5 separate regions of the Homo sapiens genome follow, and regions 1, 2, 3 and 5 are each linked to region 4. The links are contacts of gene promoters, found by promoter capture Hi-C in blood cells and fetal thymus (Javierre and others, 2016). All regions are on one chromosome and are shown on one strand. Each heading gives the region's core, a stretch centred on a gene start or on the middle of the fragment in contact. The rest is flanking DNA. Distances are from core to core; before and after follow the strand shown.

The links. Contacts are between HindIII fragments. The CHiCAGO score rates a contact against its expected background, and 5 or more counts as called.
Region 1: a contact is called between the fragment with the promoter of ZNF823 here and the fragment with the promoter of ZNF136 in region 4, in 3 of 17 cell types (M1 macrophages, erythroblasts and non-activated CD4 T cells). The highest score is 6.6, in M1 macrophages.
Region 2: a fragment that was not itself captured here is called in contact with the fragment with the promoter of ZNF136 in region 4 in 1 of 17 cell types (neutrophils); the score reaches 7.4 in neutrophils.
Region 3: the fragment with the promoter of MAN2B1 here is called in contact with the fragment with the promoter of ZNF136 in region 4 in 1 of 17 cell types (fetal thymus); the score reaches 5.7 in fetal thymus.
Region 5: a fragment that was not itself captured here is called in contact with the fragment with the promoter of ZNF136 in region 4 in 6 of 17 cell types (naive CD8 T cells, total CD8 T cells, total CD4 T cells and 3 more); the score reaches 9.2 in naive CD8 T cells.

The regions. Positions count from the first base shown.
Region 1 is chr19:11,735,782-11,741,138 of GRCh38, forward strand. It overlaps ZNF823 (zinc finger protein 823), which reads right to left and starts at 3,165. Exons shown (of 4, transcript NM_001080493.4): 1 at 3,036-3,165. The coding sequence starts at 3,038. RefSeq lists enhancers at 2,539-2,668, 3,059-3,138 and silencers at 2,739-2,888, 3,149-3,343. The HindIII fragment of the contact is 8,001 bases long and covers 1-4,953 here.
Region 2 is chr19:11,809,138-11,813,864 of GRCh38, forward strand. No RefSeq gene overlaps it. Among named protein-coding and RNA genes, the nearest start is that of ZNF440, 2.8 kb to the right of the region's middle. RefSeq lists a silencer at 3,127-3,236. The HindIII fragment of the contact is 8,771 bases long and covers 1-4,727 here.
Region 3 is chr19:12,663,215-12,668,190 of GRCh38, forward strand. It overlaps MAN2B1 (mannosidase alpha class 2B member 1), which reads right to left and starts at 3,528. Exons shown (of 24, transcript NM_000528.4): 1 at 3,329-3,528; 2 at 2,489-2,591; 3 at 2,138-2,311; 4 at 1,578-1,771; 5 at 489-621; 6 at 103-248. The coding sequence starts at 3,487. WDR83 (WD repeat domain 83) reads left to right here and starts at 3,593. Exons shown (of 11, transcript NM_001099737.3): 1 at 3,593-3,778. WDR83OS (WD repeat domain 83 opposite strand) reads right to left here. Exons shown (of 4, transcript NM_016145.4): 4 at 4,859-4,976. RefSeq lists enhancers at 1,198-2,146, 2,147-3,094, 2,751-2,800, 2,861-2,990, 3,011-3,140 and 2 more and a silencer at 3,391-3,670. The HindIII fragment of the contact is 17,009 bases long and covers 1,068-4,976 here.
Region 4 is chr19:12,159,656-12,164,646 of GRCh38, forward strand. ZNF136 (zinc finger protein 136) reads left to right here and starts at 3,441. Exons shown (of 4, transcript NM_003437.5): 1 at 3,441-3,551. The coding sequence starts at 3,549. RefSeq lists enhancers at 3,282-3,371, 3,382-3,541. The HindIII fragment of the contact is 16,254 bases long and covers 2,379-4,991 here.
Region 5 is chr19:11,878,011-11,883,335 of GRCh38, forward strand. No RefSeq gene overlaps it. Among named protein-coding and RNA genes, the nearest start is that of ZNF69, 7.1 kb to the right of the region's middle. RefSeq lists an enhancer at 3,311-3,490. The HindIII fragment of the contact is 2,118 bases long and covers 2,845-4,962 here.

The sequences.
Region 1 (5,357 bases), core at 1,915-4,414, 420 kb before region 4:
TCCAATCCAGCATTTATGTTTATAGGAGGGAAGAAAACCACAACGCATCTATATTTTATAGCTTAATAGAAAAAGCACAAGTATCTATCCGTTTCAGAAAACAAATGTCATTAATTTATCATTTTCCATAATAATAAATCATTTAGTAAATGAATAATGATATTTGAGTTCTTTAGCTGTTGGAAAGTCCTGTCCCACAGAATTTAGCATTAGTCTGTCAAGTCCACATAACAGGAACAGAATAGTTATCCACTGTCTCAAATTCTCCACTCTACAAAGGAGACGAACTAACATTTTGGTAAATCTTTATAATTCATCAATATATCCACCACACTTTCTTGCAAAAATGTATTCATTTTTCTGCAGTCATAAAGGAAAAGTTTTTCCCAATTTCTGTTCACTGCTAGGCCCTGAAATTCCGTTTGAAATCATCCAATAAAAAAACAGACCTGAGGCTGGGCACGGTGGCTCTCTCCTATAATCCCAGCAGTTTGGGAGGCCAAGGCAGGTGGATCACTTGAGGTCAGGAGTTCGAGACCAGCCTGGCCAATATGGTGAAACCTCGTCTCTACTAAAAATACAAAAGTTTTAGCTGGGCATGGTAGCATACGTCTGTAATCCTAGCTACTCAGGAGGCTGAGGTGGGATGATTGCTTGAACCCAGGAGGTTGAGGCTGCAGTGAGCCAAGATCCCACCACTGCACTCCAGCCTGGGTGACAGAGCGAGACTCCGTCTCAAAAAAAAGTAAATAAAAGTTTTAAAAAGAAATAAAATATAGGACTAAATATGTAATGAGTTTGCTGAAACCCAACTTGTTCTTGTCTCTTTGAACATACTTTATCTTCTTTATTAAGCTCTAATGATAAAATGCATTTTGCAGTTAATAAAAAGCTGAAATGAGTGAACAAATCTTTTCAAGATGACAAATGCAGGGAGGGGCTGACTGGAACACAGACAAATCTGACTACTTTAGTGTCAGTTCAGGTCCTCTTATCACTTGGGACATCTCCCACCCCAGTGCTGCTCACTGAACTGCTGAGTAATTACCCTCCAAGGAGAAGCTCCCTCAATACCGCCAACCAGCTGGCTCATCAGCCATGTGTCCCCAGGGAATGGAAACTGGGGTGGGGAAGAAAAGCTGAATGTCTTAAGGGCTTTGCTTTTTGAGGAACAGTATACCAGGAAACTCCTCCCACCCCACGACATCCAGCTGCTCCCCTATAAGGTCCCACCCCCCACCTCTGGCTGTCCTCTGGGAGGAGTGACTCAAAGCTGATATTCACTAGACACTACAAAAGACTTAGCAGCTATGAGCATCTTGGAGCAGCCCCAAACAGTTCTGTAACCCAGGACCAGGACACCATAGAGGGTGGGCTGACAGATCACCCTGTGCCATTTGCAAAGAGGAACCTCGACTGAAAATATTCGGGTATCTCTGTGTAGACAAGATAAAGGACAGCCACACATGCACTATTTTTTTTTTCTTTTTCTTTTTTCTGAGACGGAGTTTCACTCTTGTTGCCCAGGCTGGAGTGCAATGGCGTGATCTTGGCTCACCGCAACCTCCGCCTACCGGGTTCAAGCAATTCTCCTCCCTCAGCCTCCCAAGTAGCTGGGATTACAGGCATGAGCCACCACCCCGGCTAATTTTGTATTTTTAGTAGAGACGGAGTTCCTCCATGTTGGTCAGGCTGGTCTCGAACTCCCGACCTCAGGTGATCCGCCAGCCTTAGCCTCCCAAAGTGCTGGGATTACAGGCGTGAGCCACCGCGCCCGGCTTTTTTTTTTTTTTTTTTTTTTTCACACTGGAGTCAAGTGGTTATTCTTTGCTTCCTCACATGTGAAATGTTCACAAACACAAAAACACATCTTTTAAAAAGAGCCATACATTGCTATGTGAAAAGAAAGTGACAATTAAAATAATGCCTCTGTTTGAAATATTGCCTGAGGGACAAAGAGTTCATAAAGTTGCTGGGAATTGATGAGAGACAGTTAGCCTGGGGAAGGCTCTGAAAACCAAGAGATTTGCTGCCAGCCCTAGGAGGAGTTAGGATGAGGGGATAGGGTGGTGGATTTGAGACCCTGCTGCCCACATCTTTGGAAGACTCGGAGGGAAACCGGTCACCTTTGGGAAGAAAGAAGGGACTGGGGAACCCACAGATCACAGCTTCTCTTCCAAAGCACAAAGCCCACACACACGAGTCTGGATTCTGCCTGGTGACCCTCCGTTGTCACCGTGCAGCGTCCTCACCGGGTTCACAGGAACTGCGAGCCAGGCTGGAGGCGAGATTGCAGTTAGATATTAACCAGGTGCCCTCAGCCCCGCTGCCTCACGGGGCCGCCTCCCTGAGAGTCAGGTCACAGCAGACGCTGACCGCCGGCTTCCTCATCGTGCCCGGGGATAAGATCTCTTGAGAGTTGCTCACGGGTCGCCTCAGTTCTTTCTCGGATCCTGAATTGCAGCGGAAAGGCTGGCGCCAACCAGGCTGAAGACCCCACAAGGGAACCCACTCAGCAGAATGCGGTTTCTTCACCTCCAGTCCCAGGAGTCACCTCTCACTTCTCCACCAACCAGCGACCCCACACTCCAGCCGTCCCTGTCCACACCTCTAAACACCCCATCCCCAAACCTCTCAGGGAGGCGGATCTGGGGTGTCCTCCCCTCTCCCCCATTAAACTGTTTCTGCTGCAGCCTTCGGCGTCTCGGTGCAGTGACTCGGGCCGTGAACCTGTGCCGGTTACAACTGCACAATCTGGGGAGACGCGGAGCTGCGGGCGCGGAGCTGCCCAGAGAGGGCGCCGGGGCCGGGGCCGCAGCGGCCGAGCAGGGACGGGACAGGACGCCCGGGGTCCCGGCTGCCGCCCCAGCCCCATCTTGCGGCCCAGGGGACCAAGGGCAGAGCTGCGCCAGGGGCACTGGGATTTGCAGACCCCGGAGTCGCCCAGGGCGAGGCCCGGGTCCCCTCACGGTCGGTTCCGGCCGGTTCCAACCTGCCCCTTCTTTGCCTCGGGACGCCGGGCCCCGCACACTCACCATTTCCCAGCTTCCAGGTGTCCGGGTGTCCTCCTTAAAAGCCAGTGTGGGTCCCAGCGCGACAGACGCTGATACAGACCTTCCAGGGCGTCTCTCTCTCAGCGCCAGAGCCAGGACTCAGAGCGCAGGGGCGTGGAGAAGACTCCGCGGGCTCTTTGAACGTCGCACCCTCCTCCCTGCAGCGTGCCTGATTGACAGTTCTCACAATCCCCGCCCCCTCATCCCTGATTGGATAGTGCTCCAGGTCCCGCCCCTTGGTGGCTGATTGACAGAAGAAGCGATCTCACAGTGCTGAGTGGAGCCGGATGAACAGGTTCCAGGCACGACCCTTGGCAAGGCGGGCTTCCTCCCAACGGAGTGACCTGACCCCTCCCGAAGTGACGTTTGCATTTTAGAATTTCCTGATTGTATTCAGTGGGTTCTTCCTGCTTTTTCCTCCTGGACAGGGACTCACAAGTGTGTGCAGGGAATTCCAGGCTCCCTGTCCAGTGGAGCCATTCCCGGACCTCGGAGCAGGAGGGGAGCCCGGGGCACACAGGCCACCCTGCAGCAGGAGGGAGGGCCTGATGTCCTCCAGGGATCAGGAATTTGGGATGAGGCTGTTGGCGACGTTGCCAAGCCTTTCCCTCACCTTATCTCTCAATCTACTCATTTTCAGCCCAGAAGATAAAAACAGGACAACAAAATAAAATAGTTGAGTATGTGGAAAAACTGGAATTATATGGCAGCAATATTTCATAAAGAATCAAAAGAGAAGAAAAGCAAAAACTTGAACAAGCTCAGAGAAGCAGCCTACTGCACTCACAGTTCACAAGCAGACCCCCTTTCAGGAGGTCAAACATATCCCCAAGCTGGGAAGCCAGGCAATGATTCCTAAAATGGAGCTCCGGGGTGGATCAGAAGCTGGTGATAAGGGAGGGACAATTAAGAATTTTACTCTGAGGTCTCAAAATACCTGTCCCCTCTGCACAGCGTGGAAATGCTCCCTCCTTATGCCATTAAATGTTAATGAATTAAACGCTCCAATCAAAAGCCAAGACATCACACTTTGAATTTGAAAACATTAGCCTTTCTCCATATGTTTATGAAGTAAAAATACTAGACTTAAAAGCGTTATGGCCGGGCGCGGTGGCTCACGCCTGTAATCCCAGCACTTTGGGAGGCTGAGGCGGGTGGATCACCTGAGGTCGGGAGTTTGAGACCAGCCTGACAAACATGATGAAACCCCGTTTCTACTAAAAACGCAAAATTAGCCGGGTGTGGTGGCACGCTCCTGTAATCCCGGCTCCTCAGGAAGCTGAGGCAGGAGTATCGCTTGAACCCGGCAGGCAGAGGTTGCAGTGAGCCGACATCACACCACTGCACTCCAGCCTGGGCAACAGAGCGAGGAAAAAAAAAAACTCCATCTCAAAAAAAAAAAAAAAAAAGCGTTATGAACTAGAAGCTGGTAGCCATGGCTAAATAGAAAGGAGCTGAACATGAGATGTCAATAGATGAAATGAAATCTTCAATCAACTTCTAGAAACTATAGCATTTTCTGCCAGGACAAATGGGCACGTTTAGAAAATGAATGAAAAAAATGACGTCTGAGTATAACCTAATGCATAAATGATACTGTTTCCTTAAAAAAAAATAATAAGCACACACACAGACACACACACACACACTCCCACAGTCTATTATGCTAGAAACTGCTCTCTGAAGGATAAACTACTATTTTATGAAATGCTCCACCCCTCACTCCTCACATTAACTGCTCCTGGAACAATGTTCTATTTATTTGTTTCCACACATATTAAAAGAGGGCACAATGTATCAAACTAACTGATTGTCAGGGGTTTATATACAGATTCTGTATATTTTTACAAATGGCAACAAGTAAGTAGTTGATTTCTGCAATGATTTAAATACATATAAAAGCTTCCAGACAAAAATAGCTGTTCGCATTACCATGATGAAGGAAAAATCAACAATGGTGAGACCCACACCCCCTCCCCCAGAGAAAGTATAAAAGAAATCCTAAGAGAAGCTAGAAAGCCCAAAATTTGTATGTGCAAGTTTAAACACAATATAGAAAGTATTGCTGTTAGTTTCCTCACAGTCAGTTCTATGGCAACACCATGCTTTTCTGAGTTAGGATGTTTATTTCTGAGTTTGTCTTTTTTTTTTTTCTGAGATGGAGTTTTGCTCCTGTTGCCCAGACTGAAGTGCAATGGTGCAATCTCGGCTCACCGCAACCTCTGCCTCCGGGTTCAAGCAATTCTCCCACCTCAGCCTCCTGAGTAGCTGGGATTGCAGGCATGCGCCACCACATCTGGCTAA
Region 2 (4,727 bases), core at 720-3,219, 350 kb before region 4:
TTTAGGTGCATTGTTCTCTATTCAAGGAGGTGAGTCATTTTTGTATATTGGATGCTGTCAGGATGTGAACTTAATTGTACCACTGCTAATCATAGTAGTTCTCACCTAGAAGGAGAAAGAATGGATTGGAGGTAAACCTAATTGAAGACAATTGCTGGTCAGTCCATTATGAGAAGAGGGGAACTGGAATTTTTGGTTATTTTTATGATTTGAAATATGTTTTCTTCTATCCCATCTAGGGACGTGGTTACAGAATGCCCTCGTTTTTGTCCTGCTCCATCATGGTCACTGAGGAGCACTGCTTCACACTGCAGGTGTCTGACATGGCTTAAGATTTGGCCTTGTGGTGAGGGGAGGCAGCTCCCAGACTTGTGGACCTGTTTTTGCTTTACTTATTCTCCAAAACCTAAGATATTTCTTAGAGTGTATGAACACTGTTCCACAAAATGCTCCAGTTAAAAATATATAAAATCACTTACTCCTTAGGAAGCTGTATAATACTTTTAAAGAAATTCCTTACTGAGTCAAGTGTGGTCAATATATTTATGTAACTGTCTGAATGCACGCCTAGGAAGGATGAAAGTCAGTATCACTATTCCAACCAAGCCTTTCTTGCTCAGATAATATGCTCTTGATGCACCCCTCTTTTTTCTTTTTGACACAGGGTCTCATTCTATCACCCAGGCTATGTGGAGTGCAGTGGCGTGATCTCGGCTCACTGCAATCTCCACCTCCTGGGCTCAAGCGATCCTCCCACCTTAGCCTCCCAAGTAGCTGGGACCATGCCCAGCTAATTTTTGTATTTTTTTTTTTAGAGACAAGGTTTCACCATGTTGCCCAGGCTGATCTCGAACAGGAGTTCAGCAACCCTTTTATGCCACACTGTAGAGTAATAGGCAACATGGAAAAGTTAGTTTTATATATTATGCAGTGGCATGGACCAATCCAATCACTTTTTTGAAGTGCCAGCCAAACTCTTCTTCAGAGAAGCCTGTTTGAAACCCCCTAGAGTCAAAACCTGGTACCACAGGACAGAGCAGCAATGAGTGACCAACCCCTGACTCTATGTGCAGATGACACATCCATCCCCAGATTAGGTATCAACATAAGTGAAAGGTACTGTCATTGCCTGTCATTTTTTTTTTTTTTGAGATGGAGTCTCACTTTGTCACCCAGGCTGGAGTGCAGTGGCACGATCTTGGCTCACTGCAACCTCTGCCTCCTGGGTTCAAGCTATTGTCCTGCCTCAGCCTCCCAAGTAGCTGGGATTACAGGTGCCCGCCACCACACCCGGCTAATTTTTGTATTTTTAGTAGAGACGGCGTTTCACCATGTTGGCCAGGCTAGTCTTGAACTCCTGACCTTGTGATCCACCTGCCTCGGCCTCCCAAAGTGCTGGGATTACAGGCGTGAGCTACTGCACCCAGCCCATTGCCTATCAGTTTTTATAGAGTGTCGCTTAGATCAAGAAAGAGATGGTAATACAGAGTTAGGTGTGTCTGAAACCAAACACGACCTCATCCTTCTCCCTTGAAGGCCAAATGCACTCTGAGAGTTTGGTTAGAGTACAAACAACGCCACCAACTTCACTCCAGATGTGATTTTCTACAGGAGGCGGGCACTGTGTTGGGATGGCCAGTGAAGGTAAGGAACACTAGAGGTGCAGGTTTAGGTGATGAACAGGACACAGCCTGGACATTATTAGCCTTGACTATGGAGGTGTCTTGATGTTTCTCAAATTGAGACCAGTCTGGCCAACAGGATACTGAACTGGTTTTCGATGGAAAAATTCATCTGTATAGGGATCTATTCGCTTCCTTTAAGTTTCAGTTTCGTTATGTGGCATTTAGCATGAGTGACTCCATTTTGGTCTGATCTGGTTTCTAAGTGCCTAGTGCAGAAGCTCAGTCCAAAACAATGGCCTCCCATAATGTTCATTTTAACATTTTCTTTATACTAATACATTATATCAGGTCACCTCAAATGTCACCTCCACAGAGGGTTCTTCCTCTCACCTCAGTTAGTCCTACTTCTTTCCATTCAGTTTTTTGTTACACTGCACTTTTTAGGATCTGGGAAATCTAATCAAAGTTCACAGGGTTTATTGCTTATTCTTTTTCTTTTTCTTTTTCTTTTTTTGAGACAGAGTCTCTCTTTGTCGCTGCCCAGGCTGGAGTGCAATGGTGTGATCTCGGCTCATTGCAACCTCCACCTTCCAGGTTCAAGCGATTCTCCTGCTTCAGCCTCCTTAGTAGCTGGGATTACAGGCATGCACCACCACACTCAGCTAATTTTTGTATTTTTAGTAGAGATGGGGTTTCACCATGTTGGCTAGGCTGGTCTCGAACTCCCAACCTCAGGTGATCCACTCACCTCAGCCTCCCAAAGTGCTGGGATTACAGGCATGACCACTATGCCCAGCCAGGTTCATTACTTTTTAAAAATCAATCTATGAAAAATTAAATTGGCCAGGCATGGTGCCTCAGAACCTGTAATCCCAGCACTTTAGGAAGCTAAAGTGGGAGGGTCACTTGAGGCCAGGAGTTGGAGAGCAGTCTGGGCAACACAGTGAAACCCCATCTGTACAAAAAATACAAAAATTCGCTGGGCTTGGTGGCGCACACCTGTGGTCCCAGGCTCTACTTGGGAGGCTGAGGTGGGAGAATTGCTTGAGTCCGGAAGATCAAGGCTGCAGTGAGCTCTGTTTGCACCACTGTACTCCAGCCTGGGTGACAGAGGGAGACCTTGTAAAAAAAAAAAAAGAAAGAAAGAAAGAAAGAAAGAAAGAAAGAGAGAGAGAGAGAGGGAGAGAGAGAAAGAAAGAAAGAAAGAAAGAAAGAAAGAAAGAAAGAAAGAAAGAAAGAAAGAAAGAAAGAAAGAAAGAAGAAAAGAAAAGAAAAATCATGTAAATGAAACCAAATTCAGTGATGTTACCTTAACTTTTTTTCTTTTTTCGGGTAGAGACAGGGTCCCACTATGTTGCCCAGGCTGGTCTCAAACTCCTGGCCTCAAGCGATCCTCCTACCTTGGCCTTCCAAAATGCTGGTATTACTGGTGTGAGCCACCACACCTGTCCTACCTTTATTTCTAATAACTGATATGCCTTACATTAAAAAGTCTTTTAGAAAACACCTTTGAGCCATTTTCCAGATAGGGGAAGTCAATGAAGCTCCCTCTTGTGGTGAGGGCGACTTTAACATCCACACATCCTGTCTGGGGGACTGGATTTCTGAGTTGTGCTGAGACTTAAGAGTGGAAAAAAAGTCTACTCTTTTTCCTCTGCTCTCACACAACACGGAATACTTCTGTGACCAAATGCAAATATTTGAGAAGTGTCCCCCACATGCCAAGCAAAGCATCAATTCTGCAACTGACTCCAGCTCGATGTCTTCTAGTTCCAACACTTTCTACCTTTACATAAGGTACAAAACTGCCTCAGAAATCATCTGACCATGTGTCCCGGTTTGCCAGTGATAATCCTTGATAGTACCTGTTGTCCCAACATAGTTTTTCATAGCACCTCATCTTGCCATGGTTATCTGTGTCTGAACAATGAATATGTATGAATACTTTCACACATAAGCAAAATTAGGTTTATTAAATGAAGTTTCCAGGAATGTTCAAATTTCAACACCTGATTTACCTTATCACAAGTTATGGCTGTGCTAATTTCTCCAGGAAATATTCACAGAATATTGAATTTATCATTGTAAGGTGTGGAGCAATGAAGATGCCCAAGAGGCCAGGCGCACACCTGTAATCCCAACACTTTGGGAGGCTGAGGCTGGAGGATCACTTAAGCTCAGGAGTTTGAGATCAACCTGAACAACCGAATGAGACCTCATCTCTACCAAAAATAAAAAACTAGCCAGGCATGGTGGCAGGCACTTGTAGTCCCACCTACTTAGGAGGCTGAGGTGGGAGGATTGCTTGAGTCTGGGAGGTTGAGGCTGCATTGAGTAGCCATCGCACCACTGCACTCCAGCTTGGGCGACAGAGTGAGACCCCGTCTCAAAAAAAGATGGCTAAAACATAATTTTTTTTTTTTTGAGATGGAGTCTCACTGTGTCTCAGGCTGGAATGCAGTGGCACGATCTTGGCTCACTGCAAACTCTGCCTCCCGGTTCAAGCAATTCTCCTGCCTCAGCCTTTCAAGTAGCTGGGATTACAGGCATGCGCCACCATTCCTGGCTAATTTTTGTATTTTTAGTAGAGATAGGATTTCACCATGTTGGCCAGGCTGGTCTTGAACTCCTGACCTCGTGATCCACCTGCCTCAGCCTCTCAAAGTGCTGGGATTACAGGCATGAGCCACCGCGCCCGGCCTGCCTAAATCATAATTTCTATGACAGAATTTCTCATTTACAGCTTCCCCTGAGACCATCTTTCATTTCAGTTAACCCTGCTCCTTGGGGGTTATATGTGAGATAAAAGTGCCATGCTATATCATGTTCCCTGGCTCAGTCCTACACAGCATGTCCTGAAAAATGGGTCTTCAGTCACTGTCAATGCACCAGGGATAGATATACATAGTACTGAGAGCCTCTAAATCTTTAATAAGTTCTGGCTTGGTTAGCTCCCTTACAAGGAAAACCTTGCTGGAGTCCATAGCAGTGTGAGGAAGCCTTGGCCATGCCTCATCCCATTTCCCGCACGCTGGAAGACATCTGCCTCTCTCTCCTGGTGCAGTCGTGCCTTGCCTGGTCTGGGCTCCCCTCCTGCTCTGA
Region 3 (4,976 bases), core at 2,278-4,777, 500 kb after region 4:
AAAATTAAAAATAAGGAGAACGTGTTAGGGGATGCCTGTACCATGGAAAGAGCTCATTGTATTGTATATACCGGACTCGAAGGTTCTGGACACCAGGGTTACCTGGGCAGTGGCCACATTTAGGAAGTAATCGACCAGCTCCTTGGCGTTGTACTCGGGGCTGCGAGGGTCCTCCACCAGCGGCTGATCGACACACAGCACATCCCAGCACAGATTCCTTGGCGGGTTGTAACCATTGGGAAGCACACCTGCAGGTCACACCAAGTTCAAGGGGTGGCCCATCACCCAGACCTTCCCTGGTTTCAAAGCCGGCCATGTCCCACCCAGGATGGGCTTCAGAATTTGTGTCCCAATGCAAAAGGAAATGCAGGGCCTTTGTTCCCAGACTATAGGAATTCCAGGACAGTGACAACAGAGCAGATATCAAGCCCAGGGCCCTTCTGAGTGTGTGGCACCATGGCTGGCCCTGCCCTCACCAAGCCCCCTACCAGTGAAGAGGTCCGCGGTCGGGGGCTTCAGGCTGGTGCTGGCCCGCCACACCTGCTCCATCTCCAGCTTCTGCATCCGTACCCACTTATCTTGATAATCAAGGCGCCCAAAGAAGAAGCCGTCGAAGCCCATCTGGGGATGAGGGAGGAAAAGGCAGTGTGAATTAGTGCCCAGCCCTCTCACCACCAAACTCCCCTCTGCTTGGGAGGGGCAGGTCAGAGCACAGGTTAAAAAGCAGTGCTAGGTCGATGTGGTGGCTCTTGCCTATGATCCCAGCCTTCTGGGAGGCCAAAACAGGAGGATCACTTAAACCCAGGAGTTTTTGAGACCAGCCTGCACAACACGGGCAGACTGTCTACAAAAAATTTAAAAATTAGCCAGGCGTAGTGGTGCGCTCTTGTAGTCTCATCTACTAGGGGGGCTGAGACAGGAGAATCGCTTGAATCCGGGAGATTGAGGCTATAGTGAGTTAGGATTGCACCACTGCACTCCAGCCTGGATGACAGCAAGACCCTGTCTCAAAAAACAAAAACAAAAACACGTAGGGCTGAAACAGAGAGGCCTCCAGCTTATTTCCAAGCTTGGGGAAGTTTCAGAACTCACCACCTTGGGCTAGCAGGGAGAGGGCGGGTCCAACATCAGAACCCAGGTTCACCTCCCCAGCACTGTCAAAGCGCAGAGCAGGCCTGACTCCAGGAATGAGGTTCCCCCTTCCACAGCCTGAGGATGGATGGGGTCTGAGCACAGGTAATGAACCTGTTTTTAAGGCAGCCTAGGCATCCACTTGCCACCCGGTTTAGGGAGGAGCCAGGACCCGAGCTAGTGGGTGGGGCCAGAACACCAAGAGGGGCCTATTAGGGGAGAGGGCGGAGCCAGCCGGAGCTGGGTCAGCCTGGGCTGGGCATAGCCGGCTGAGGCCAGAGCTCAAAAGCCACTGGCTTTACGGCTCACTCAAGGGGCAGGGCTTCAACAGGCCTAGGCCTGGGCCTGGTCCTTGTGAGATTGCAGGGAGAGGGCGGGGTTTGACTGGGCGAGGGAGGAGCCAGAGTGAGTGAAGAAGTGGGCCCAAGAGAGGTCCCGGGTCGCACCTGCGCAAACAGCGAGGCCTGCTCCCGAGAGTGGCCGAAGGGGTCAATGTGCCAGGCCACACGGGGTCGCCCATCATTGCCAAATGTGTCCTCCAGAAAGCGCAGCCCAAGTGTCATCTGGTCCACGATGGCACCGTAGTGGGTGGCTGCCTCATCGTTCATCACCCAGCCACCATTGGCGAACTCCAGGCGCCCTGTGCCAGGACAGGCAAGGTCAGGGTCAGCGGTCAGAGCCAGGAGTGGGAGTAGGGTGGGTGATACTGGGAATGTGAAAGCCTGCCTGTGTACACATTTCTGGCGGAAGGACAAGAGGGGTCGCTCCCAGGCCATAGTTCCCAGATATGGGAAAGAGGCCCCCTGCATGGCAGGCTTCCCAGAGGATGCACAGCAGGTGGGGCTTTGTGGGATGTATAGGAGGTCTCCAAATGGAGAGTCCAGGCAGGCGGAGCGACACGCATGTTATACAGCTTGCACGTGGCATGACAAATCTCAGAAACCAGAGATGCAGAAGCAGAAGCTGGGCTGGGCTTCCTCTTTTCACTTCCTTGGGGTAGGCTCACCCTGGCGCACAAGGTCTCGCACGACTTCCTGTGTGGCATTTGTCTGCTGGTGCCACCAACGGGAGAAGAAGGCAATCTCCACGTAAATGAAGCGACGGGTGGGATCTGCCAGCAAGGCAGAGATGACCGAGTCCAGGATGTACTGCACACCGGCGTGCTGGATGTCATTCTTGACTGTGGATAACAGGGATAAGGCTCTCAGGGAACAGCAGAGCCAAGGGGGTTATTCCTAGACAGAGGAGCCCAAACCCTGGATATTAGGGTAGCACTGGCCCCACCCTAATGTCCAGGACCCAGAGGGATTACAGGGACCATGGGGATCCCAGGGACCAGTCCCCATCCTCTACTCACTTCCATAAAAGTACTGGTCCACGGTTTTGAGCCAGCCCACGTCATCATGTGTGTGAGGCAGCAGGTGCACGTTCAGCATGTTCGGCTGCACTGTGGGGCATGTCTGCACAGGGACCCCAAACACACATACCTTGTCAATAACCCCCGAGGTCGGGGGCTGCAGAGTAAGTCTTGATCTAGAGGTGAGTGACTCAGAGAGGCCTGATCTCGCCTATGTGCAGAGGAGGCCAGGCCCTCCCAGGCAGGACACACACATACATAGTTGTGCTCATAGATACAACTCCACTTTGCACAACCCCACAGGGCAGCTCTCATTCACACTCCGGGAAAATAATAATAGAAGTAGCTGATGTTTGTTCAGCATTTGCCGACAGCAGACGGCCACCGTGGGAGGTGGGGTGATGTTATCCCCAGTTTCCAGATGAAGGCACTGAGGCTTAGAGAGGATAGGTGACTTGCCCAACGTCACACACTCAGGAAGTGTAAGAGCTAGGCTGGAATTTCAGGCAGACTCCAGAGTCCCAGCTCTCAGCCAGCACCTCCCCCCACACATACACTGCTCACCCCCTGCCACCTCCTGCCCCTCCAATCCCACAGTTAAGTGCAGACAAAGTCTAGGCAAGCATCCCGGAGACACGGAGGCAGGTACAATCAGACACAGTCCTATACTCAGATGCGCACAGCCAGACCTCGCAATGACACAAAGCACGCACTCAGACCACACTGTCATATCATCAGCCATTCACTAGACACCCACAGGACAGACCCACCCACACCTCTAGACTGTATTCTGGGTTTCACTCTGCCTCCTGTACGTTTCAGCTCGGAGGCCCCACTCACCTCGTATCCCCCGGCCCGAGCACCGGCAGCCGCCAGCAACAAAAGGAAAAAGCAGAGAGGCGGGAGCGGTGGCCGCAGGGCGCGGGACATGGTCCAGGGGCCTGCTGAGTCCAGGCAGCCGCGAGCGCAGACCCCCGAAGCCCGCGCGTAGGCGCCCATGGCTCAGCAGCTTCCTCCTGGGGTTCCCCGGCCCTGGAAAGGCCGGGCAAACGCCCCGCCCCCAGACCCGGCCGGGCCAATCGGGGTGGGGGGCGGGGCCAGGGCGCGGTCTGGAGGCTCACGGGAGAGAGGCTGTAGCCCTGGGCAATCCCGGGGGTCGTTACAGGAAGGTAGGAAAATGCCACCCTCAGGGCACTGGTTGGGCTAAAGGTGACACTGGCGTCTCACGGGCTATGAAGACGGAATGCCTCTTAATGCCGGAATTCCAAGACGGAATGCCTCTTAATGCCGGTAGGAGCAGAAGTGCTTTTCCTAAGGGGGCCGGGTTTTCCTAGCCGGTGTAGTGTGTCCATGGGAATCCAGGGTGTCCGTCCCATGGACCTTCAGCGCTAGGGTCCTGGAAGGACCTAGCTTGCCTAAGAGGAGGATCTGATGAAGAGTCCTATACTGTGGGGATTGGGACGTTGGGTAAATACCCCTGGAGTACCAGGGATGGGATCCAGCCTGGTTGAGAAGGATCCCTGGGTGTTCCGGAGAGAAAAGAGGGTCTGACAAGTGGGGAAGGACCCCGAGTCTTTCATGCCTTTCCCAATTCCTACCAGTTCATTCTCTGATAAGAAAACAAAGCCCAGGGCAGGCGCAGTGGCTCAAGCCTGCAATCCCAGCACTTTGGGAGGGCCAGGCTGGTGAATCACTTGGGCCTGGGAGTTTGAGACCAGCCTGGGCAACATGGGTTGTTTTGTAGAGACGGGTTTGAAAACACAAAATTTGTAATTTTACACAAAATGTAAAAATACAAAAATTAGCTGGGCATGGTGGCACATGCCTGTAATCCCAGCTACTTGGGAGACTGAGGCAGGAGAATCACTTGAACCTGGGAGGCGGAGGTTGCAGTGAGCCGAGATCAAGATCATGCCATTGCCCTCCAGCCTGGGCAACAAGAGCAAAACTCTGTCTCAAAAAAAACAAGAATTAACTGGGCATGGTAGCACGCATTTGTGGTCCCAGTTACGTGGCAGGCTGAGGTGGGAGGATTGCTTGAGCCCAGGAGTTTGAGGCTGCAGTGAACATAGATTGTGCCACTGCACTCAGCCTGCATGACAGATCAAGACCATTTTCTTTCTTAAAAAGGAAAAAAAAAAAAGGAAACCAAAGCCTAGATTATCTAGGTCAGCAGGGCCATCTGGTGAGTTGCCAGAGGGCAGAAGTCACTGTCTTGTCCCTAGCACCTGACTTAAGACACAAGGTTTATGAAGTAAGCAAATGAACAGCCAGAAGCCTCCAGACTGGGGCCCCACACCAGGCCTATGGGGCTAGAGCCCTTCCCGCCAGGTAGGAGGAACACCCCACTGAACAGAAGAGGCTGACAGCCAGAGTGAAAAACTTTATTAACAACAGGTTTCAACGAGAAAGCAAATGAATACCCCTAGAAACATGGACAGCATCTCCCCCAGCAGCAGGCAGGGGAAGGGAGGCAGGAGGGGTAAGC
Region 4 (4,991 bases), core at 2,191-4,690:
CCACCAGGCTGGGCTAATTTTTTTTTTTTTTCTTTTTTTTTTAGAGATGAGGTCTCACTACGTTGCTCAAGCTGGTCTTGAACTCCTGGCCTCAAGCAGTTCTCCTTTCCAGCCCTCCCCGAGTCCTGGGATTGTATAGGTGTGAGCCACATGTCGGGCCTAGAACCTTTCATTCAAGCTCCACTCAGCCAGGTGTTAAATTCTCCTCTCACTCCGCCTCCCAGAAGGCGGGGCCCGTGGCACTGTCCAATCAGGAGGGGCGGGGGGGTGTGGCTGTGCAAATTGTCCAATCAGGCGCGGCTCTGGGAGGAGGCCGCGAAGCTCCATAAAACTGCGAGGCGTTCCTTTCACCCGCCCACAGTGGGTGTCAGGTCTATGCTGCTCTGAGAAGCACCAGAGGTGGCTTCGCTGCAGCTTCTTTCCAGCTGTGACTTGCAATGAACACGAAAGACATAAGGAGAACCATAGACACCTCAGAAGCCAGGAAATGGTGAGTGCTGGGGGGATGTCCCGAGACTGTGGAGCAAGGTGCTGGACAGGAACCTGCTGTGACGGGACCCAGGCCTGTCCGGGGCGACTTCGGGACCGGTGGACTGGAGTCCCCCTAGCGCAGCCACCGCGCCCGATTTAAGAGAGAATTTTCAATGGCTAAACTGCACATGTACATCTCCTGACACAGAGCACCTGGTGACAACCATCAACTGTGAAGGTCAGGGAGCTGCTGAAGCAGAAGAGAGTCCATATTTCATTAGTTTTTTTTTTTTTTTTTGGAGACGGAGTCTCGCTCTGTCGCCCAGGCTGGAGTGCAGTGGCGCGATCTCAACTCACTGCAACCTCTGCCTCTGGGGTTCAAGCAATTCTCCTGTCTCAGCCTCCCGAGTAGCTGGGACTACAGGCGCACACTGCCACGCCCAGCTAATTTTTTGTATTTTAGTAGAGACAGAGTTTCACCGTGTTGCTCTTGTTGCCCAGGCTGGAGTGCAATGGTGTGATCTCAGCTCACGGCAACTTCCGCCTCCCAGGTTCAAGCGATTCTCCTGCCTCAGCCTCCTGAGTAGCTGGGATTACAGGCACGCGCCACCACGCCTGGCTAATTTTGTACTTTTAGAGACGAGGTTTCTCCATGTTGGTCAGGCTGGTCTCGAACTCCTAACCTTAGGTGATCCGCCCGCCTCGCCCTCCCAAAGTGCTGAGATTACAGGCGTGAGCCACCGCGCCCGACCTTCATTAGTGGTTTTATATAACAGTTTGTTAATGTCGAAATAATAGTTTGCTGGCTTCTTCATTTTATCAAAGGAATAATTATTTGCCAGTTTTAAAATCCACTTAAAACTGTCTTGAAATTTTTCTCTTCTACTTTACGGTAAACACAGGAGGAAAGCAGGGACTCTGCTGGATTCTCTTTCGAACACTGGGATTGAGGGTGTTTGCCTCGTGGAACTGAACAATGTGGGTGAAAAGCAGGTGGAAAACTTGCAGGGGGCAGCATAGCCTGAGGCCGGTGATCCACACTGAGACTAATCTGGAGCCTGCAAAGGGAGGGAAAGGGAGCTCCCCCGATTGCTTCCTGGGCAGCCTGCCTTCCCCTGTAGGTAGTCTCCAGCTGCTCCGAACAGCTCCAGCTCCAGCTCCAGGAGTGTGGATTCTGAGAAGCTGCAGAGCCCTGGAAAGCAGGAACTTCACAGGCAAATGCACGTGCGGGTTTCTCTCCTTTCTGAGGTTGTACCTCTAGTTTCCCAAGGTAGTTTTCCGGAAAACTTTTTGTTTTTTGAGACGGAGTCTTGCTCTGTCACCCAGGCTGGAGTGCAGTGGCGCGATCTCGGCTCACTGGAACCTCTACCTCCCGGGTTCAAGCGATTCTTGTGCCTCAGCCTCCCCAGAAGCTGGGATTATAGGCGCCCGGCTAATTTTTGTAATTTTAGTAGAGACGGGGTTTCGCCATCTTGGCCAGGCTGGTTTTGAACTCCTGACCTCAAGTGATCCGCCCGCCTCGGCCTCTCAAAGTGTTGGGGATTACAGGCATGAACCACTGTGCCCGGCCTTGATTTTTCTATGTATAGAGTTGCTGCAGTCAGGCTGTAATTTGTATATATGAAGAAAATATGTAAAGATCATATTTAGAGACTCATTTAGGTAGCGTTCCAGAGAAATGGTTTATGAGCTAGAGAGGTTGGAATTTCAAGGGGCCTAAATTGACCACAGGTGAGAGTTTTCTGCTGGTGTAAATTATTAAGGTATTGAAGGAGGGAGCGTTCCCACATTGTGATGCTGTGACAGGAGGGCATGTTGAGCTCCCAGAGTTAAATCCTTAGGTTTCCTGCCTCATCATCAGGGTCTAATGTACTCTGTGGCTCCACTTCAGCAGTCACTGACTCTTAAGCTTGGGAATATGTTCTACCTTCTGAATTCATCTTTTCCTTTTTAAATGTTCTGAAGTGCCCTGCTTATCTGAGCTAGTTCAAATTTTCGCTTTACTTCCCTTTTGATTTCTTTACAGATTACGGAAATAGAACTTGTTTTTCCATGTATTTAATAATTTTATTCACTTGTTGGCAGTTTTTTATTTTCTTGGGTGAAAATGAGTAGATTGATTTGGGAGGCGAAAGTGGGAGGTTCACTTGAGGCTAGGAGTTCAAGACCAGCCTGGACAACAAACGAAATCCCGTCTCTACAAAAAATTAAAGAATTTGCCGGGCTTGGTGGCATGTACCTGTAGTCTCTACTACTCAGGGGACTGAAGCGGAAGGTTCGCTTGAACCCAGGAGATGGAGGCTGCAGTGAGCTATGATCATGCCATTGCACTCTAACCTGGGTGGCAGAGCTAGACCCTGTCTCAAATAAATAAATAAAGTAATAAATAAGTAAATAAAGTAATAAATAAGTAAATAAAGTAAAAAATAGAGAGAGATAAAGAGGTATGGTATGAGAAAGCCTTGGGCACGCTTCCCATATCCTCATCCCAAATTTCCGATCCCTGGGAATATCACGCCCTTTCTTCTGTTCCAGTCCTGCCTGGAACTCCCTGCGCACACCTGTGACTCCTCATGCAAGAGGTAGATGAAGAAATGACCCACTGAGTACAGGAAGTATCTCCTTTGGTAAACCCGGATTAAGTTCTGCTAAAATGCAAGTATCTCCCATCTCCCCATCCCCCGCAGACCAAGTACAGTGAAGGGGACGAGGGGAAGAAGTCCACCCTGCGTTTGAGGGCTGGGGCCAAGACCCCTCATTCCCGCTTCACTCATCTATGCTTCACATCTCCTGTCATTCACATCTGTCAAGATGCAGGGGGCAGAGCCCGAAGCTGTACCCAATCAGGGGCACCGGGGAGGAGCTCTGCGATCGGTCCAATCAGGCGCGCCGTCGGGGACGCAGCTGCAGACGTTCAACCTTCTCGCGGGATTTTCATTTCTCGCGTCTGCCGTACTTGGTTTCGCTTCGCTAGTCCCAGAGGCCCAGAGTGGCTCGCCTGGAGTCTCTGTGGCGCGGTTTCCTGTACCTGCCTTGGGATCCGGAGGGAGGAAGCTGGGACACCCGGGAGTCAGGAAATGGTGAGTGTGTCGGGCCCTGCGTCCCGAGACAGGGAGGAGGGGCTGGTTGGACGACCGGAACTGGCTGTGGCGCGGCCCGGGCCTTCCCGTGGGCGACTCTGGGTCTGCGTACCGAGTCCCTCTGGCGCAGCTCAGCCCTTGGTACCCTCGGCCTCAGGGTGGGGCTGGGCCGGCAGCCGGGACCCCGGGCGTCCTCGTCCCGCCCTGTGCCGCGATTGCGGCCCCGGCCCCGAAGACCCAAGTCTCTTCAGATTGTGCGGGGCCCACGCGAGGGTCATGGGGTGGGGGAAATCCTGACTTGTGCGTGGAAGGAGCTGTGGTGTATGAGGTTCCCAGTTCCTTTTCTCTCCACAGAGGACACCCGTTTTTCCCTGAGTTTTCTAAGTGTATGGGATGCAGGGTCCCAAATCCTCACTCTGTCCCCCAGCCTGCTGTTTCCAGGGCTTGCAGTAAATCCCCAAATTTCCTGTTCTCTTTTCGCTTTTCCAAACGCCAACCTCTCCCCTTCCATTCACGACATTAGCAACCGTTTCTCCTATATTCTACATTTCAGATATTGTGCTTTCATTGTTTATTTTTCAACAAAGCAATGGATTACTCTTTCATCAAGGTTTGTTTTCTGTTCATAGCCTTGACACTCCGCTGTAAGAAACCTTTGTGCTTGTCCTTTTGTCTCCTCTATGCACAGATACCTCATCAGAATGTCTTTGAGTTGAGGTTCCCCTTTGGAATCTTTACAGGGTGATATGCCTTCAGCGCCCCCTCCTATTTATTTTTTCCTGGTTCTGGGTTTCAAAACTGTCTGGGGCTGACTCAAGCTGCCCACAGCTGCCAAGTCTCTTGGAGGATCTAGTGAATATTGGGTCTTGGGTGAGTCTTCCTAGAGGACAGTTGAAATAGAAGGCTGGGAGAATGCCCTGGGACTAGGATAAATCTAGCATACCCTGCTTCTAAATAGCCAACCTCTGGGGGCACTCAGCTTTTCCTCCCCCAACCCCAGTTTCCATCCTTTGGAGACACACTGGTGGTCAGCCAATCAGATGCTGGTATTGAGGATTGAGAAAAGAAAATTTTTTGTGTGTTTTGAAAGAGTCTCGCTCTGTCGCCTAGGCTGGAGTGCAGTGACGTGATCTCGGCTCACTGCAACCTCCATCTTCTGGGTTCAAGCGATTCTCCTGCCTCAGCCTCCCCTGTAGTTGGGACCACAGTTTTGCGCCACCACTCCCAGATAACTTTTTTTTTTTTTTTTTTTTTTTGAGACGGAGTCTCTCTGTCGCCCAAGCTGGAGTGCAGTGGCGTGATGTCGGCTCACTGCAACCTCTGCCTCCCGGATTCAAGCGATTCTCCTGCCTCAGCCTCCCCAGTACCTGGGACTACAGGCGCATGCCACCACGCCCGGCTAATTTTTTGTGTTTTTAGTAGAGACGGAGTTTCACCTTG
Region 5 (5,325 bases), core at 2,654-5,153, 280 kb before region 4:
ACCTGCTGGAAAGCATTATATACTGCCTGCACTGACTCAAGAGTGTCTGGTTTCATCTCCATGTCATAATTACAACCACAATCCTAAAGGGACTGATTTACCACACTGTGGTTGCCGTAAGTCCCAAATTGTACCCTCAGCAGCAACTATATCATCCCAAGTCACAGCTCTACCCTCTAAAGGTGTGCCTGAGGCTTGTGCCTGCCATACTAACACATTAACCTGTCCAAAGCTTCCTTCAGAGCTGTGTCCCAGTCCCAAAGTGCCCCTTTCTAAAACATTGGGCTAAGTGTCAGATAAATGCTCTCCAATAATCCAAAGACCAACAAATGTCTGGATTTTTTTTCTTAAGAGAAATAGTATGGCTCTGTTTCCCAGGCTGGAGTGCAGTGGTGGGATCATAGCTCACTGTAGAAACTCGGGCTCAAGGGATCCTCCTGCCTCAGCCTCACAAGTAGCTGGGAGTAAAGGCACATGCCACTATGCCCGGCTGTTTTTAAATTTTTTGTACAGATGGAGTCTCACTCTATTGCCCAGGCTGTTCTTGAACTCCAAGGCTCAAGTGATCCTCCCACCTCAGCCTCCCAAAGTGCTGAGATTACAGTTATGAACCAATGCACCCAGAACTCAAAAAGGAATATTTATAAGGGAAAATATCTAATGTTCAAATTGTTATGTATAGAGCAGTTAACGGGAACTATCATTTAGGGTCTATGGGATTCTAGGACACTAGGTATGAAACAAATATGAGGAAGGTCAGAGAACAAGCTGACTTGATGATTAATGCTGAAGGTGCCGCAAGCTTGGTTTAAGTTTTCCTCCTCCCATCCTCCCTGATGAATTTGATAAAGTTTAAAGGGATGGTTTCACCGGGGGCTTTTTCCACTGACTGCAAGGAGGTGATCCCGCTTGGTAAATCTTCAGTAGGCCAAGCCTCTTACGTGGCTAGAATGATCCAGTCCATAAGGAAATGTCACCACCTGCTGTATTTTACACTTTGACCATCAAAGGGGTACAGGGTTTCCCCAGGGAGTTTGGTGGGATTTTAATTTTTTGTTTGTTTGTTTTGAGACAGTGTCTTGCTGAAGCGCAGTACCCAATTATAGCTCACAGCAGCCTCAAACTTTGGGGTTCAAGTGACTCTCCTGTCTCAGCCTCCTGAGTAGCTGAGACTGTAGGTACACACACTTCTCCTTGGTAATTAAAAATTTTTTATGGAGATGGGAGGGTCTCACTTCACGGCTCAGGGTGGTCTCCAATCTCGGGCTTCAAGCGATCCTCCCACTTTGGCCTCCCAAAATGTTGGGATTACAGGCGTGAGCCATGGCACCCGGCCTCCCAGGCTGTTGTTTGAAGGTCTTTGCAATCTCTAAGAGTTCTGCAGCAATTTATTCCCTGACAGTGAGAGTCTCATCCTTTGACCCCATTTTGCCGCAGTAGCTGAACGTTCACTTTTCTTTCCATAAGGGGGCGAGCTTGCCAGTGACCCTAATCCCTCTCCTCATCGATGACTTCTTTGTCATCAGAGCCTTCCTCTTCATAAATTCCCACGGAATCCAAGTTTTCACGTCCCAATCGGGCTTAGTTATGATAGCCACAGGCCCACACCAGCTGCCACAGCACCCCTGTCCCATGGAAACCGCCTGACTCTCTTCTCCCCAAGCGTCCTGTCCCAGGAGCCCCCATCATCTCTGCTCCCCCGGGCTCCAGGCCCTAGAGCCGCGCTGCTGCAGAGCCCGGTTCCCAGGGCTGCTCCCTCCATATATCCACATTCATCTCCAGCTCTCCACCCTCTCTCCAACCAGCCAGGCCCGGAGGTACTGCAGTGTCACTGAACGTGCGTCCCTCAGCTGCCACCTCCACCACGATCTGGAAATCTTTTAAATGCACTTAAGTTATCTTAGAATTTTCCTTCCCCACTTTATACATAAACATAGGAGGAGAGCAGGGACTCTGCTGGTGTCTTATTCACACAATGGGATTGAGGGTGTTTGTGTCATGGAACTGATCAATGGGGTGAGAAGTAGCTGAATAACCTGCAGGGGGCAGCAGAGCCCGAGGCCGGTGACTCAACGCTGAGGCCAGTGTGGAGCCTGCAAAGGAAGGGAAAGGAGCCTTTCCTGGGGGCTTCCGGGCAGCCCGCCCTCCCCTACAGGTGGCCTCCAATTGCTCAGAGCAGCTCCAGAAGGAGTGCGGATTCCGAGAAGCTGAAGAGCCCTGGAAAGCAGAAGACCCACATGCACACGTATGTGTGGGGGTTCTGTCCTTTCTGGTGTTGTACCTCTGGAGCCTGGGGCTGTCTTCTGGGCAGGGTTTGGGGTTTGACATGCATGGGGCCACTGGGGTCAGATTTGTAAGATACAGTGAATTTCTTTAAGTTTTTCTTTAAAGATTTAGCCTGCTAACTTCCTCGTCTTTTGTTCTCAAACTCAACTTTCCTGTTCCTCCTTGCCCCTAGTTACTTTAAAACAGCCTACCCCGTTCCCATCAGCTCTAATCAATAACTCACATCTGTTCCCTTGGTTACCTGTACCCATTGTTCCCCCAAAACTGCACATCTCACATGCTCCACCTCTGTACCTCACATCCCCCTCCCCTTCTATATTTAGAAAAATATGTACAAGCAGCCAATCGGGTCAGCTCAGACTGTGCGGTCCGACCCCAGCCCATGGGGGAGTAACACAGAGATAGGGACCGCATTAAGGATAAAAACCTCCTGGTCTCCTTTGTTCTCTGTGCTCTTGTGATCTTGATTGACGTGAGTGGCACCCTTCTGCAGTAGTAAATTGCCTTGCTGAGAGAATTAAAATTTTGCCTGAGTGCTGGTTTTACTTCACGGCACCAAGCTTTTATTCCGGGAGCATTTTATATCCAACAATTCTAGGGGATCGTCCGAGATCCCCATGCTCCTTTTGGAAGAGTTCTTCAGTCACCCTACCCTGGGGAGACGCGTCCCACTGCCCCATTGCGGTGGCCTCAGGGACAGGAGATCGAGACCCACCCATTTTGACGAATAAACCCGGACTCTCAGCAACGCGGGGAAGAGAGGCTTGCAATACCGCAGCGACCAGGTAAACTCTGTGCACAGACCAAGGTGGGAAACGTTGCAGGGGCAACAAAGTAATTCTTTGGTAGTCGGAGGGGTGTGTCAGGGCATTCTGGGGGTTGAAAGTGCATGAATGGTAACAAGCACTACTGCTGTGCGGAGCGAGTGAGTCCAATCTGCGGTTCTGTGGTCACCTCACACGGCTTAGGGCAGCCCTGCGGGGGTCCTGTCACAGGTTTATACGGACCTGCCATCAATGCTAAGAGGAACCTGAAACAAACCTGCGAGGGAAGCGGCCAGAGTGGATGAAGCGAAAGAAGGGTGCAAGGAACCTCCAGCAGGTGGAGCTAAAGGATAGTGGAATTGAGCCTTAGCCACACTTCCAGTGAGGGATAGGCAAAAGACCTCCTAATATGAGGGGTTGAGCCACAAGGAACCCCCCAAATAGGCAAGAGATCCTTAATTTGAGAGGCTGAGCCACAAGGAACCCCCAAAATAGGCAAGAGATCCTTAATATGAGGGGTTGAGCCACAGCAAGCCCCCCTAGGCAAGAGATTCCTATCACGAGGGATTGAGCCTAGCCAGGACCCAGTATAGGAAATATTACAAGCAAAAAAGACAAAGTTAGCAACAAAGATATCCCCCCTAATAGTCCCCTAGGTCTCATGTTAAAACATTAGAAAGATAATGAAAAGACTAAACATAAGAAAAAGCAATTAGTGATAAAATATTGCTGTTCCATTTAGACTCAAGAACGAATCCTTGAACCCTTAGTTTTCTGGCCAGAATTTAAGTCGAATGAGGGATGGATTTGTGAACTTCTAATAGAAAATGTTGCTAGTAGAAGACCTGCCTCCTGAGAAGAAACAAATTATGCCCTATGTTAGTTGCAAGGAGTTGTCCTTTCCCCTCCTCCAAGGATTGAAAGGAGCAAGTCAAAAACTAATATTTGGAGGAAAATGAGTTGTACATGTGCCCTATTAAGATAGAACCATCTTTAATGAAAAAGACAGTGAAGGAAGGGGCTTGGGGGATCCTAGCAAAAAGAACAACTCGCAAGATCCCCTAGACCATTCCCCACCTAATACCCAACCCTTCCCCTCAGGCATCGCCCAGTAAGTCTGTTCTTCCCCAGCCTAAGTCCCTCTCCCCTAAAGAACTCCAAGCTCCTAATTCACCAGATGGCTTTTGCCAGGCTAGCAACATGAAGGATCTGCCGCAACATGTTGTCAGCGTTGTCTGGCCCATAGTGCACCCCTGCAGCGGCAAAGCCCATGCTCCTGCCCACTGGCTGGTCCAAGGTCCTGGCACTGTATTGACGGCAGCTCTGCATGACATGCGAGCCAGGCCCCAGCCTATGCCCCATGCAAACTACATTATAGGATATCTGCCTTACTTTGCTGAGGCTAAGTAATACGGGGCTTCAGCGATGGCTCCAAGCAGCCTGGCATCCCCGCAGCTAAGTTTCCTGAGCAAGAAGTAGATAATCTTTCAGCGGATATATCCACTAGCATTTATTATAGTCAGGCCAGTGTTAAAAGTGAAAATATCCACCAGAAAAGAACTCTGATTCTTTAAAGTCACCTATGTTAAAATGTACCACCAAAAAAGAATTACATGTGTATAAATATGAGGCTATTCTGTTAAAAATGATAGTTTAATGTTACTAGTAATTTGCTTAACCTAACAAGTTTCTTAACGAAAGATCCAAATCTAAAAAGGAAGCACACATGTTTAGATTTAACTGATTACCATACAAATGTCCGGCCAAACTTAAGAGAAACCCCCTTCAAAAATGATTAAAGGAAAAAGGATTCAACAGATGTTCAATAATAAATAGAGAAGTTCCTAGAGAAATAAAATTTAAAAATTGTTTAATAGTTTACCCAAATTTGTAAGCTGTTTGCACTTAGTCAAGCTTTAAAGTAACTGCAAAGGAACCATCTATACTAATCTATATTGATTCTAAATACACCTTTATCGTGGCTCATACATTTAGAAAATTTCAGACAATAATAAAGGTCAAAGCCTTGTTCATGAAGAGTTAATAACCCAAGTGTTAAATAACCTTCAGTTACCAGAAAAAAAAAAAAAGCTATTTTCCACGTCCCCAGGCACCAAAAATCCTATCTTTCAAGAGTTAAGAAAATAACCTAGCAAATCAGATAATCCGAACCAGCTGCCGTTTCTCCTGTAGGCACTGAAGGGAATTCAAATGTTATTTAAACCTCTTATGAAAGAAGTCCTATCCCACCTAAATTAGAGGACCCATTAAAGAC